Regions from separate parts of the Homo sapiens genome. Here all the other regions are linked to region 3. The links are contacts of gene promoters, found by promoter capture Hi-C in blood cells and fetal thymus (Javierre and others, 2016). All regions are on one chromosome and are shown on one strand. Each heading gives the region's core, a stretch centred on a gene start or on the middle of the fragment in contact. The rest is flanking DNA. Distances are from core to core; before and after follow the strand shown. Region 1 has its middle 8.8 kb from the start of LINC00954. Region 2 has its middle 26 kb from the start of LINC00954. Region 3 holds the start of OSR1 (odd-skipped related transcription factor 1).

What was found. Contacts are between HindIII fragments. The CHiCAGO score rates a contact against its expected background, and 5 or more counts as called.
Region 1: a contact is called between a fragment that was not itself captured here and the fragment with the promoter of OSR1 in region 3, in 15 of 17 cell types (megakaryocytes, naive CD8 T cells, M2 macrophages and 12 more). The highest score is 16.8, in megakaryocytes.
Region 2: a contact is called between a fragment that was not itself captured here and the fragment with the promoter of OSR1 in region 3, in 2 of 17 cell types (erythroblasts and total CD4 T cells). The highest score is 5.8, in erythroblasts.

Annotation. Positions count from the first base shown.
Region 1 is chr2:19,858,053-19,862,140 of GRCh38, forward strand. No RefSeq gene overlaps it. Among named protein-coding and RNA genes, the nearest start is that of LINC00954, 8.8 kb to the right of the region's middle. The HindIII fragment of the contact is 2,179 bases long and covers 679-2,857 here.
Region 2 is chr2:19,841,033-19,845,210 of GRCh38, forward strand. No RefSeq gene overlaps it. Among named protein-coding and RNA genes, the nearest start is that of LINC00954, 26 kb to the right of the region's middle. The HindIII fragment of the contact is 3,629 bases long and covers 556-4,178 here.
Region 3 is chr2:19,357,173-19,361,230 of GRCh38, forward strand. It overlaps OSR1 (odd-skipped related transcription factor 1), which reads right to left and starts at 1,451. Exons shown (of 3, transcript NM_145260.3): 1 at 1,169-1,451. RefSeq lists enhancers at 1-129, 795-1,323. The HindIII fragment of the contact is 8,359 bases long and covers 1-3,083 here.

The sequences.
Region 1 (4,088 bases), core at 518-3,017, 500 kb after region 3:
CCTTCCCCATCAGCTGTGCATGCAAGGACTGTCCTCAAGACCCGCTTGTCAGAGCAGTGACTCATCCCCGAGTCTCCAAGAGTGAGGCCGATGGGGCTGGCAGAGGAGTGGCCCTGCGATTTCAAAGTTTCGCCTCCTCTGACCCTCCTTCTCACACTAGGTTCGGCTACAGATGAGGGAGCTCAAAGTTCTGTTCCTTCCGATGTGTGGCTAGTAGGGAGGGTCTCAGAAGGGGCTTGAGGCTTTCCTTATCTATCCCAGCAACCAGCACCTGTGGGGCCCCTGGCTCCAAAGGCTGGGCATGGATGTAGGTGAGGAGGGACATTGTTCTGGAAGGAATGGAGGCATGCAGCTCAATCAACCTCATCCAGAGCAACTTTGCCAGAGGCAAGGTGGATTCTTACCACTGTAAGAGCTCCTCTCCGGTCTCGGTCTCGGGAGAGTTGAGTCTCTGAGCTGTTTATGTAGCAGAAAGACACTTAACCACAGGCAGGGCACACGGGAGACCTGAGAGCATCCTCTGAAAGCCATTGTCTGGAAATGCAGGCTCTGTCCTCCAGAAACGTGCCCTGCACACTCTTCAGAAATGTGGGCAAAGCTCCCTGAGGAAGGCAGCCTCAGGGCTTCGTTGGCTGAGAGCAAACACTAAGTCAACTTGATCTAAGTTGTTCTCCTCCAAGCTTCAGTTTCTGCCATCTGAAAATCTTGTTTGGAGTTTGAAACAGGGCAGAAGCGGAGACACGGGGATCCCAGTGGAGGCACGAGATGGACCAAGGGCTCTGCACTTGCGGAGAGGCCCTGGCCAGGTGCGCCCAGCCCTCACCCCTAAACCTACCTGGTGTGAGCCACCAACAGATCCTCAGGAGGGAAGCTGGTAGCCCCGTCAGGCCGCCCAGGCCAGGATTCCTGAGAGGCAGCAGCCAGAGCTATCTCTAGAAGTGGCGCTTCCTGTCTATCCCTCCATACACAGGGCAGCAGACAAAGCTGAGCCCTCTGCTGAAATGAACTGAGCCAAATGCTGATCTTTATTTGGGGGGCATCTTGTAAAAATATTAGATCCAATTGATGCTCTGCTCATGAACAAGCTACAAAGGTGACCTTGGAGGGACTTTTCTCCCACAGGCCAGGAGCAGCGACAGCAGCGGCTCTCACCTTCACCACCTGGCTGCGCTGCATGCAGGAGGGGCCCAACAACCCACGTGAAGGAAAAGGAGGTAGGAGAGCCACTGGATCCTGAGCCCCGCCGGAATCCGTGGCCCATGGCGCCACTGGGAAAGATCCAAGGACCACACGCCCAGTGTCCAGCAAGCCTCAGCTCCTCCAGTGGGCATTTCCAGAATCCCCAAGGCTGCCCGAGAGCCCCTTCACTTCTGCTGTTAATACACAGATGTCATGAAATGCTGGGTGACCTCTAAGGAAGGGATCCGTGCACCCACACTGCAGACGCAGGGGAGCGGCCACAATGGTAACAAGTGGGTGGGCAGGACTGTAGCCCATTTCTCCTGCCTCGGCCAGTGTTCTTTCTCACACTAACCACAAGTGTGCATGCACACGCACATACACATAGGCACACATGCTCACACGCATAAGTACATGCTCACATGCACACACACACACAGGCTCTCTGTGAGCAACAGGTCCACGCACTCCCTGGTAACCGGTTACCCGCAGCTGCAGGCTTCTAGAAGAACAACCACTCCCTGGGATTTTCCTGGGAGGGGAGACGTAAGATCGAGGTTTGGATCCCCACACTCACCACACTCACCACACTCAGATCGCCTTGTTGCCGTGTAACCGCAGTCCTCTGACCCTTGATGACTCTCAAAACCGTTCTTGTCATATAATACATGAACTATGCATAAACAATTCTGGGTTATGATGTGTTTCCTAAAACTAAGAGAACTTCAGCCATAACACTGACATTTTGTTTCTGGAAATTAAACCCTGGGAACAGTGAAAATAAAGTCCCTCAATTTATGAATTGTATTTCCGTACATACTTCAATTCCCAGTGCTTGCGGTGAAAGAGAAACACGATTGTGTTTCTGATGGCGTAGCCACTAAGACCAGAGGGCCTGCCCCTCCTAGGTTCTCCACTTCATACCAGGAAGCCAGGCTCTCCAAATAAGGTCCTCACTAACAACCTGGGTGACCTAATACTTCAGGAAATGACGAGAATAAACCCAAGCAAGATGGATTTGCCCATTGCTCTTGGGAAACAGTCACCTCCGCCTCTGCCCTGTTCCTGGCAGGAAGGGGCAAATGCCTGGGAGATGCTGAGACAAGTTTGCCAAGGCCTTGGCAGAGTCCCCAGGCTGGCATCTCAGTATGAACCTTGCCAGTCCTGGGACTTCTGCAGGCAGAAAATGTGCACCCCCAATGCCCAGCAAACTGTGGGCCCTGCAGATGTGTGCTGGGCTATGAACAAGGGTTTGGGGGAGGTTGAATGATTATAATTGCCAAGTGAGGCGAAGATGGATCGGATTCTGGTGCAGAGAGGAAGGTTGAGAGAAATGGAGGAAGGTGAAACCAACAAGAAGTGTCCGGACACGCTAGCAGGATTTCAGCATACAGAGCTAACAAGATGCGGGGGTGAGATACACATACAAGCTGGAGAGAATGGGGGCATGGGCAAAGGTGGGGGGCCAGAGAGGCTTGGAGTAGAGAGGGAAGAGTGGGAAGTTCAGTCAGATGCAAGCCCTGGAGATGAGCAAGGGAGTTGAGAGGTGCGGACGTGGCCCCTAACATGAGTACATGTCAGGTGTGTTATTTCCCTGCATTGACTGCCCTCCTTCTCCTTCCTCCAGGACAAACCCTCCATCCCCACTGGCCCTGCTCAAACTCCGCCTCCTCCAGGAAGCTTTCCCTGAACTGCTCAACCGGCAATGAACTTCTTCCTCCCTTCTCTAATTTCTATAGCACACCTCAGCCATCAGTTCAGGGCCACCACAAGGTGTGCACAGGCATCTCACAAGTTTGCAGAAATGCCTTCGTAGACTGTGTTCTTCTGGAAGAAAGATCACTTTGTACACATGTACCTCCCTGCAGTGTGGCTTAACCCAGGTCCAGGCACACCAAGACTTCAGGAGGGGCCCACAAACTCAGAGGGAGGCTGGCATGGGAGCAGGACAAACCATCCAGCCCCACACCCACCCCAGCCCCTATCCATGACTCCACCAACCAGGACTCTGCCTGCCTTCCCAGCCCTTGGCACAGGAACCCCAGCTTCTAGCACCTTCTCCAAGGCTCCTGCACCCTGCCTGGAAGGCAGCCCCTCGCCCCCAACCTCCTCCCAGAACTCTTCAGTTCCCCACACCACCAGCCTTCCACAGCTGAAGGCCATAGCTCATTAAAGCCAGACGTGTAGTGCCCCGTGCCACATTTCCTGGGCCTCAGCACTTCCACAGAGCCCCACTGCCAGGAGGCCACATATTCAGCCCCAGGGGCAACCTGTCTGGTCAGGGAGGCTAAAAGCAGCCCTATCACAGCGAATGAGCAAGCCCACTCTTACAAAACCAGAGTGGAGCCATGGGGGCATGGGGAGAAGAGGCAGGGAGTGCTGGGCAGGGCTCCCATCTTGGTCCTTCCTACTGAGGAGGGAAGTGGGAAAGTGGGCTCAGGCTACCACTGTCAGTGGGGATGGTGGGGGTGGCCTCCAAAGAGGACACCTGCCTGTGCAGAAGCCAGAGCCAGTCCTGGGCCCCTGAGTCAGCAGCAGAGACACAGAAAGAAAACATGCTAACTTGTTAACTGAGTGACTTGTAATGGGGACAAACATTCACATTACAAAATAATCTCCATTTGGCAAAAGGGCCTCTTTAGGAATTAACAAACTCCTCTTTGAACATGTAAGTGTCCTAGAAGAGCTAAGTGAGGCTGTTCCCTGGAATCACACTACCCAGGTGTTAGTCACTCACCCCTTAGTGTGAATCAGCTTGATCAGGCTGTTTTCCTGCTGCCTTCTGCTAGAATTCAACTTTCTGAAAAAATAGATCTGTTTGGGAAGTGATGCAGGCTGGGTCATTTTGGAACACAGAGCACAATACGAGTCTTGGAAGCAGTGGGGAGAGAAAGAGGAGTTGTTCAGCC
Region 2 (4,178 bases), core at 1,120-3,619, 480 kb after region 3:
ATTCCCCAAAATAGGCCCTGAAATGAGAGTTTGCATTCAAGTGATTTCTTAAGGAAGTCTAACTGGGAGAAACTGGTAAGAACAGAGAAGGAAAGAAAGAAAGTGAGTTTGATCGTAGGCAGAGACCCACAGAGGACACTCTGAGTCCGATCCTGCTGTAAGACTCCTCAGGATTGACAAACCTTCAGCAAAGGCTTTCATAACCCCTCCCCTCACAGTCACTGGTCCAGGGGAGAGGTAACTGCCCACTCATTTCTGGCTTCTATGCAAAGTAAAGCAGCACCAGTAGCCCAAGGGTATGAGGGAAGTCCTTCAAAGAAGAGCTGCAGGCTCCAAGTGCTGGGGATTGGAAGCAAGAGCATACCCAAGACAGCGGTGCACAAAATGGACAGGGCCAAGGGGAGTGGTGGTGCACTGTCATTGCATCAAATAACAGCATAACATCATAGGGTGACCCAACTAAAGCCAAGCTGGAATTCACAGTCTTTCTGGCCACATGAGTAGAAGTCTGGTCATTGCTCTTGGAATCTGTTTAAATGAGCTGGTATACACGGAAGCTTTTTAGGAGTGAAGGGATGCAGAGACTCCTGGGGAGACAGATAGTGTAAGGAGGGGAATGGGAACCATACCAGGGAATGGTATGGTGACTGTCTCTCCCTCCAGCCCAAGACAGGGGTTCTGGATCTCTGTCACTTGTAGCCAGAGTTCTAAGTAACACACTTTATCAGTTTGCTAGGAGGGGTATAATGAGCGAATGGATGAAAAAAGTCTTCATAAATAACAAATGTTGTATTACTTCCAAGTCACATTTGATGGTCTGGAAAAAACACTGAAGGGTACACATAATGGTCACTCAGTGAATATCTATTAAATGAATGAATCAAACTGGCTGAAGGAGGAGGAGGAAGAAGAAAAAAAGGGAGAAGAAGAGGAAAAAGGAGGGAAGGAAAGAAGAATAAGAGTGGGTAAGAGGAAAAAGAAGGAAGGGAAGGGAAGGGAAGGAAAGGGAAGGGAAAGGAAAGGAAGGGAAGGAGGGAGGGGAGGGGAGGGGAAAGGGAGGAGAAGGAGAAACCCACACACAGAACTCACTGTATCTGAAAATTCTAGGGATAGGTCTAAATTCAGGCATGGCTGATTCAGGCCCTCAGAAGCTGTGGACAGGACCGTATCTCTCACCAAACTTTGGCGCTGCTTGTCTCTGTGTCGCCTTCATTCTCAGGCTCTGTCTGAAGTAGCAATGCTTCCACCAGTGGCTCTCAGTGAACATCCTACCAGCTTAGCACCCTCATGGCCCTTTCCTCATAGCTCCAATAGAAGTTCCATGATTGATTCTGATTCACTGACTTGAGCCATCTGCCCATTCTTGAACCAATTACTGTGACCAGGGAGATGGAATAAGCAGATCGGCCAGCCCTGGGTCACACGTTCACTCTGGAGCAGCTTACAGGTGGGTGGGGGTCGGTTGCTGGTCCCACCTGAACTGCATGAAATGAGCATGGGGGAAGGGGATTTCGCCCAAAGGAGAGCTGGGGTGCTGCTTGTTGAAGTAGAAAAACGAGGTGCTGGACATGCAAAAATCACAGTCTCCTACGTTCCTGTGTGATACCAAGACTGCTTCTGCAGCAGAAAAGGCAGAAAGAAGGGTGGGCCCTTAACTTCCATAAGCGATGCACTCTTAGATGTCTATGAACTATAGAGTCAAGGAAATTCAAATGTTTGTACCAGATCCAGGCTTTCTCTTGAATCACAGGTAACTGTTTTTCCAACTTCCATTAGTTTTCTCTCATTTGGGGAGCCATTTTGAACCATTAGAGAAGCTGTTAAAATGGTTTCAGGAGATGCCTGGTGTTTTCTTATAGAACTCCTGGTAAATTCATTTACACCATTGGAGTGAGTCCCTGCTGAATTCAACATTCCTTCTTCTAATTTGTCCAAAACTTCAAACGCTCATTTTCTTAACCCACCCAGTTTCTCTATACATCTATCTCCAGCAATAGTTTTTGGCATTCTTTAATGGTCATTCCTTTTCCCACTGGAACCAAGTGTTGAATCACCTCATAGCAGTTACAGTGTCCATGACGATGAACAGAGAATGTGAAAGTGGCTCTGAGGTGTGGGCAGCTTGCTGAGTGCTAAAGGTCTCTGAGAGAGACTCCTGTGGCCTTTGCCTCTGAGGATCTACTCACCCTTCTGCTGATAAATGTATTCTCTCCTCCACTCTTAGATCCTAGGTTTTGGTGGAGCTTCTCACCATAATTAGGGCTGGAGCCTATAATGTAAGCCTAAAAACCAACTAGATTATCACAGCTCCCCAGTCACAACAATTAATTTGGGACTCAGTCAGAAATAATGAGAGGCAATGAGACACTGGCAGAATTTTCTGGGAAAGAGACCGCTGCTATTAATATTTCCTGCTGGACTTGAATCTGAGGGAATATCAGGTTGGGAGCTAAGGCTGCCATTTAGTACCCTGAGAGACGGATCTGGCCTCCAAATGGAGTCAATCCAGAGGAAGTGGAGTTGAAGGTGAGGAAGAGGGAGAGACGAGAGAGAGGCTAGACCCTGGTGACATTGACTGAGTGAAGTGCCACCTGAAACCAGCCCAACCTCTGCCTTTTAAGAGAAGTGAGTTGATAAGTTCTCTTTTTGCTTACCCTGGTTTGTGCTGGGATTTCTCTCCCTGGAGAGCAAAAGTTACCAAGTAGATGCAACCCTATTGTATTTCAATACCCTCTCAGTCCCCACCAGCCCATGGGTTGACATCTGGTCACATTAACAACAGCACAATGGAGGCTCTTAGCTTCCATGCACTGCACATGGACTCAGCACCCCTCCAAGTCTCTCTCTCTTATTTCTTAGTGAAGATTTCACCAGTGGGTGTCTTATATGTTCAGGAACAATTTTGGTCATGTTCTTTCCTGACATTCTCTTATAAAATGACTGTGGCCAGAGGAGTGGGATGAGACCACTGACCTCATTCTGATCATGAGCAGGGCTGGGAGGAGAGTGAGTACAGCTGGCAGCCTCCATGAGGAGCACTCAATTCACATGGAGGAGAGGCCATCCATGGAGAAGAAGGGAGCACTATTGCCAGAAGAACAGAGAAGAGCGAGCTAAACACACAAACAAGGGGGCCCGCCATGGGTAGAAGGGCAAGAAGTGCTGAGACCACCCACTGATGAGGACAGGAAGGCCTGGGGGAGGGAACACATGTGCCAGTGGTCACTGGGTGAGAAGGTAGTGGGGCTCAGACTCAAGCCCAGGGGACCAGGGTGCTCCCCCTGCTCACCCATGCCTTTGCTGGAGAGCCATGAACAGTTTAGCAAGGGTCAGGAATGTGTGAAAGTTCACACTGCCAGTTCTGCCCAATCCACAGTCAAGTTCAAGTGTATTCCTGGATGGGGAGCAAAGGCAAGATCTGTCTGACAACACCAATTTCCCCCAACCTGAGTGCCAGCCCCCAAGGCTCCCTGCAATATAAACTGCCATGGAACACTGGCCTTAGACCCCTGCAGGCTTCCTACCCTCAGAAACAGCCATTCTATGGAATTACAATGTGGGGCAGGCTTGATCCAAACACTCCTGACTCACTGCATTGCAGCCATGCCCTGTGGGCTCTGATCACACAATTCTCTCACTCTTGATGAGCTTATTCCCCTGCTCCTTCATACTTTCCTCTCTCCCATCATCCCGGAATTCCCTTGCTCATTTCTATAATCTAAAGTCTTTCCTCTTCTTTCTCTAAGATTTTTCTTCTTCAAACCCCACCCCAACGTTCAAATCTGAGACTTCTCAATAGAAAGAACCCCAAATTGGAAGCAGGAGGCATGGGCGAAGGAGCCAACCCTGGTGCTGCCTCCTTGGATGACCTTGAGCCAATTCCCACACCTCTCTGGGCTCCAGCTTGCTCTTTCCAAGGCATTGCAGGCAAACGCTGGGATTCCCCATGTCATCTGGCCCACTATGAGCACAAAAGATGCCCCGTCTTCCACCACCCCTGACCCCAAGCCTCTGTCCCTCACACCAGGGCTGCCTTCTGTCCCCAGGTTAGACCTGAATGATGGGAAGAGATGTTCTTGCCCCTGGAGACCGGGCAATCCAGGGCTGTTTCTGTTTTAAAAATAAACCATATGATTCTTTCGGATTTGGGGGTTGAAGAGCAAAAAGAAAGAGGATAT
Region 3 (4,058 bases), core at 201-2,700:
TAATAAAACAGCAATTACCTCGAGGAGCCTGGGATGGAACATCTACACGCCGCCGGTCGCTGCTAGTCCCCTCCAGCGCTTCTCTTCCCTAGGGGGTTGTGAACCTGGGACACCTAGCCTTGCACGTGGTTTTGTTCCGCAGAGCCAATGCGCAGCTCTTAGCCTGGGTGAAATTTACCAAATTGTGGCAACAAAGAAACCCTTGCGGCTACTTTACACATTGAGAACCCAACCCGCTACTGCCTGAGCTGCTGAAAAAGGACTAAACGTGGTTTTTCATTCTTCTCCGAGACATTTCCGAGGAGAAATTAGTTCAGCAGGCAGCCCTTCACCCCTTTCCCCCTTCTTTCTCTCCTGACGGCTGGATTAGCGGACAGTCAGGGGAGTAACAGAACTTTTCCTGTCCCCAGCCCGGAGACCCTAGGGCTCCACAGAGTTTCCACTAGTGCTGTGTGTGGGTCTCGAATTGGAAAGCAGTGCTTGCGCCCACTGCATTGCCTCCCTGCACCAGGACAATCAAGGGTTCCGCTCCAGGCCTTGACGACACAGAGCAATCATCCTATGGAGAATATCCCTAAGTTAGAGCGCGAGTGCAAGGCGGGGTTCAGACTCGCAGCCCTGCGCTCTCGGGTCTAGGCGGCCTCATACTAGAGCGCAACTCCTCAAAAGACAAACTTGAACGAAAGCGCTACCGAGCTGGGGCATGCACCTGTCCCTGGCGCGGTCGGCTGCGGCTGTGGCCATTCACTCCCTCTCCCTTCCTTCTTCGTCAACCTGGGCGTCAGCCAGAGCTAGGAGCGCGTCTCAGGAAAGTTTGTGCCCGCTGAAGTTGCTCTGGTTTCTTAAAGGGGGCCCACAGATTGACTTTCAAAGTCCGTGGGCACCTCGCCCGTGATTCCGCAGAGCCGGGCGGGCTGGCCGCAGTAGCGGAGGCCCGCCCCCCTTAATCCCCAGCGGTCAGAGGCCGAGGACCCCGCGCAGGAAGTCCTGAGGCAGCACCCCCAACCACCCTGCTCTCACTTTCACAAAAGTCCTACAGCATTCGTTTGGCAAGAGCTTCCTTCAGGGGCATTGAGAGAGAGGAGGCACCCGCCGAGCAGTGACAAGGAACCTGGGAGTCCTGCCCGCATTCGCTTTGCTGAGCCCAGGCGCCCAGGACTGCAATTACCTTGTTCCGCAGAGGTCCTGGGGCTGAGCACGTCTCTGGGGCTTTAGCTGAAGGGGACTGGGGAAGCCGGAGGCCCTGGAGCCCACAGGCGCCCCTGGAGCTCTAGTGTCCCGACTCCTCTCCTGCCGCGGGGACTCCAAGCGCCGGACACGCGGGAGCGAGCGCTCAGCAGCCCCGGATCCTGCACGCCGGGGACGGTGAGCCTCGCTCGCGGCTCCCTCGCTGGGTCTGAACCAGGAGCAGCTGAGAACGTGCCGGGGAGAGGCCGAGCTCCGACTCACTCATCCCTTAGCACCGAGCCGCCTACTTATTTTAATCCACCACCCTCCCTCCTCCACCACCCCCACCCCCGCCCCTTGCCTCAGGATTCCTCCCCTCCCTCCCCTGCCCCCCAACCCTGCCCTGCGCCTGCGCAATGAAAGACAAAGTTTTTGCTGACCCGGGCAGCAGACTTTGGCAGCTGCTCTCGCTTGGACCCGGCCTCTCCCAACCTGCGTCCCCTCCTCTTCAGTCCCGCGCGACCCCTGCTGCCTTTTTAGGTCCAGAGCGGCACGCCTGGCGCACTGGAGGAAACGGTCCCTAGCAGATGAGAGCGGGCTGGCACCGCACGTTTCGAGGTCCTATACTTGGGCTCCTAGGACACAGCCCGTGCTCTTTGGGAGGAGGGAGGGAGGGGCAGTAGCTCTGTGCACCGGGATCCCCACACCGCGGCTTGGGTTTCAACGCACTTTGGCGCCTGACAGAGTCGCATCTCCTCCCAGAATCTCTTTCCAGAGGCGGCAGACCCCGAGTGTGGAGCAGCTCCTGGCTATCCAAGCGTGCTCGGGGCCAGGGTGTTAACCCAGGCAGCGCTGGTTAATTCCTGGTGCGGGAGGGCCAGGGTCACCGAAGCAAGCGAGCTGTAACATCTGAGTGCTTATGGTTGACCCCAGACCCTAAGTTCTGGAGTCCAGTAGAAAGAACAAAGAGTAGGGAAAGGAGGTCAGGAAAGTTATTTTCCTGGGGCCCAGAACTCTCTGAGATTTCACCCCAATGCACAGTGGCACTCTCTACTTACATATTTGTTTTAGGATGGATCAGAGTTTAGAGAGCCGCACTGGCAAGCTAGACGAGCTGCAAAGTTGTCAGTTCCAGGGCCTCTGAGTCAAGGAGCTGGTTCAGGTGGAGTTTTTAATCGGAAAGGAATCAGAGTTCTGGACATTAAAAATTCTATCTTCATTGCCTAGGCATTATGGAGGGTACCATCACCCCCTTGACTACCCATCTCTGAAAGCTGACCTCCGGCTGACCCCAGCCCAATCCCTCCCTAATGCCTTTCTGGAATACCCTTCCAGGCCTTGGGTTTGGCAAGGAGGAGTCACTGGTTTCCTGGGACTTGTGTGGGTCCAGATCACACAACTGCACTCTCTGCCTTTGCCCCAGAGTTGCTGCTGAGTGACTCTTGGAGCTGGATCCTAGATTCCGTGGGTCCCTAAGTACTGTACTGCTTCTCTCCCGAGGAGCTTCTGCTATCTCCAGCTTTGGTTTGCAAAGCTAATCTGATTTTCTTGGGAGGTGAAGAAGGTTGTAATACCTGACCTAGGGAGATGGTAATGAAGACTCCCCTCCCTCAAAGGCATAGTTGAAAGAGGATTTCCTTATATCCCCAGGCCTTTAGAACAGAATCTAGCCTCTAACCCCTGGGTAACTTCGTCTTGTTTGAGGAGGAGTAAGAGGGGGTGCAATCTTTGCTCCAACGAACAGCTTTTACCCAGTGCCTCAGGTTAGTGCAGAAGTAAGAGATTCACATAAGTTTGTCCATGCTCCTGGAATCTTAGCAGTTGCTAGGATGTAGTGACATTCTTGCTAGAGTAAGAACCCTTGGAAGAGAAGAGAGCTGAGATCACACCTCCTTCCTAGAGATTCCAGAACAGAAAGCTTCAAGGGCAAGGAAAGGCCTGGAGGGAAAGTCTACACAGGGCAATGCTGAACTTTGCTGGCTTCCACCTTGGGCACAGGGAGTGTGCTTGTTCCAGCCTCAGGCTCTCCAAATAAGCAAAGCTTGGGTAACCTCCATTACCAGCAGCAAAAGTTAAGAAGTAAAAAAAATGCCCACACGATAGGGCCTCTGGCTGTCCAGATCACTTAGGAATAGTGGCTGGTCATTCAGGTGGGATGGAACCTCCTGGGGTGTAAATACCCAAACTCCTGCTATGCACCCCTCATAACTCAGCTGGGCTTCTTTTATGTTTCTCCTTGTCTTTCTTTTCTAAAACAGGGCCCTTGGCCAATATGCCTCAGAACTTCCAGAAAGCCCTAAGTAGTAGGATCCCTAAAGAGCTCTCGGAGAGAAAGTGTTCCTGATCTTAAAGAAGAAACATGCAACCGAGTTGTTTCACCACTGCTTTGCCAGATTATCTTGAAAACTGATCCTGACTCAGGTCTCTAGAACTTAGTAGATGTAGAGCAGGTTGTAGAGCAGATGTAGAGTAGATGGAAGCAAGGTTGGTGTTGGTCCCCCAGGCTGTGCCTCCCAGAGAAATCATGACCACCTCTGCCTGGAGCTGGTCAGCAAGGCCACAACAGGACAAGGCCAGAGTGCACCTGAGTGCTAGTGACGATGGCTCTCCACAAGGGCTCACCTGTTTCAGAAGCCTGGCTTCAGAGAGGCGTCTCCTAGGTCGCTGACAATGCACAGCCTCAGAAAGCCAGGATAACGAAATTCAAGAATTGCTAGGAGCTGAAAAGTCCTCCATCCCGCTCTGAGCTCCCAAGGGGGTGACCCCCAAACCCTAGCCTTGACCTCCACAGGAGGCCAACCAAAGTCTGGGTTCCTTCTGGGCGGGGCAGGCAGGAAGAAGCCCAGGAAGCTAAGAATCCCTCCGGCCGTTCGGTGCTGCGGTATCCCATC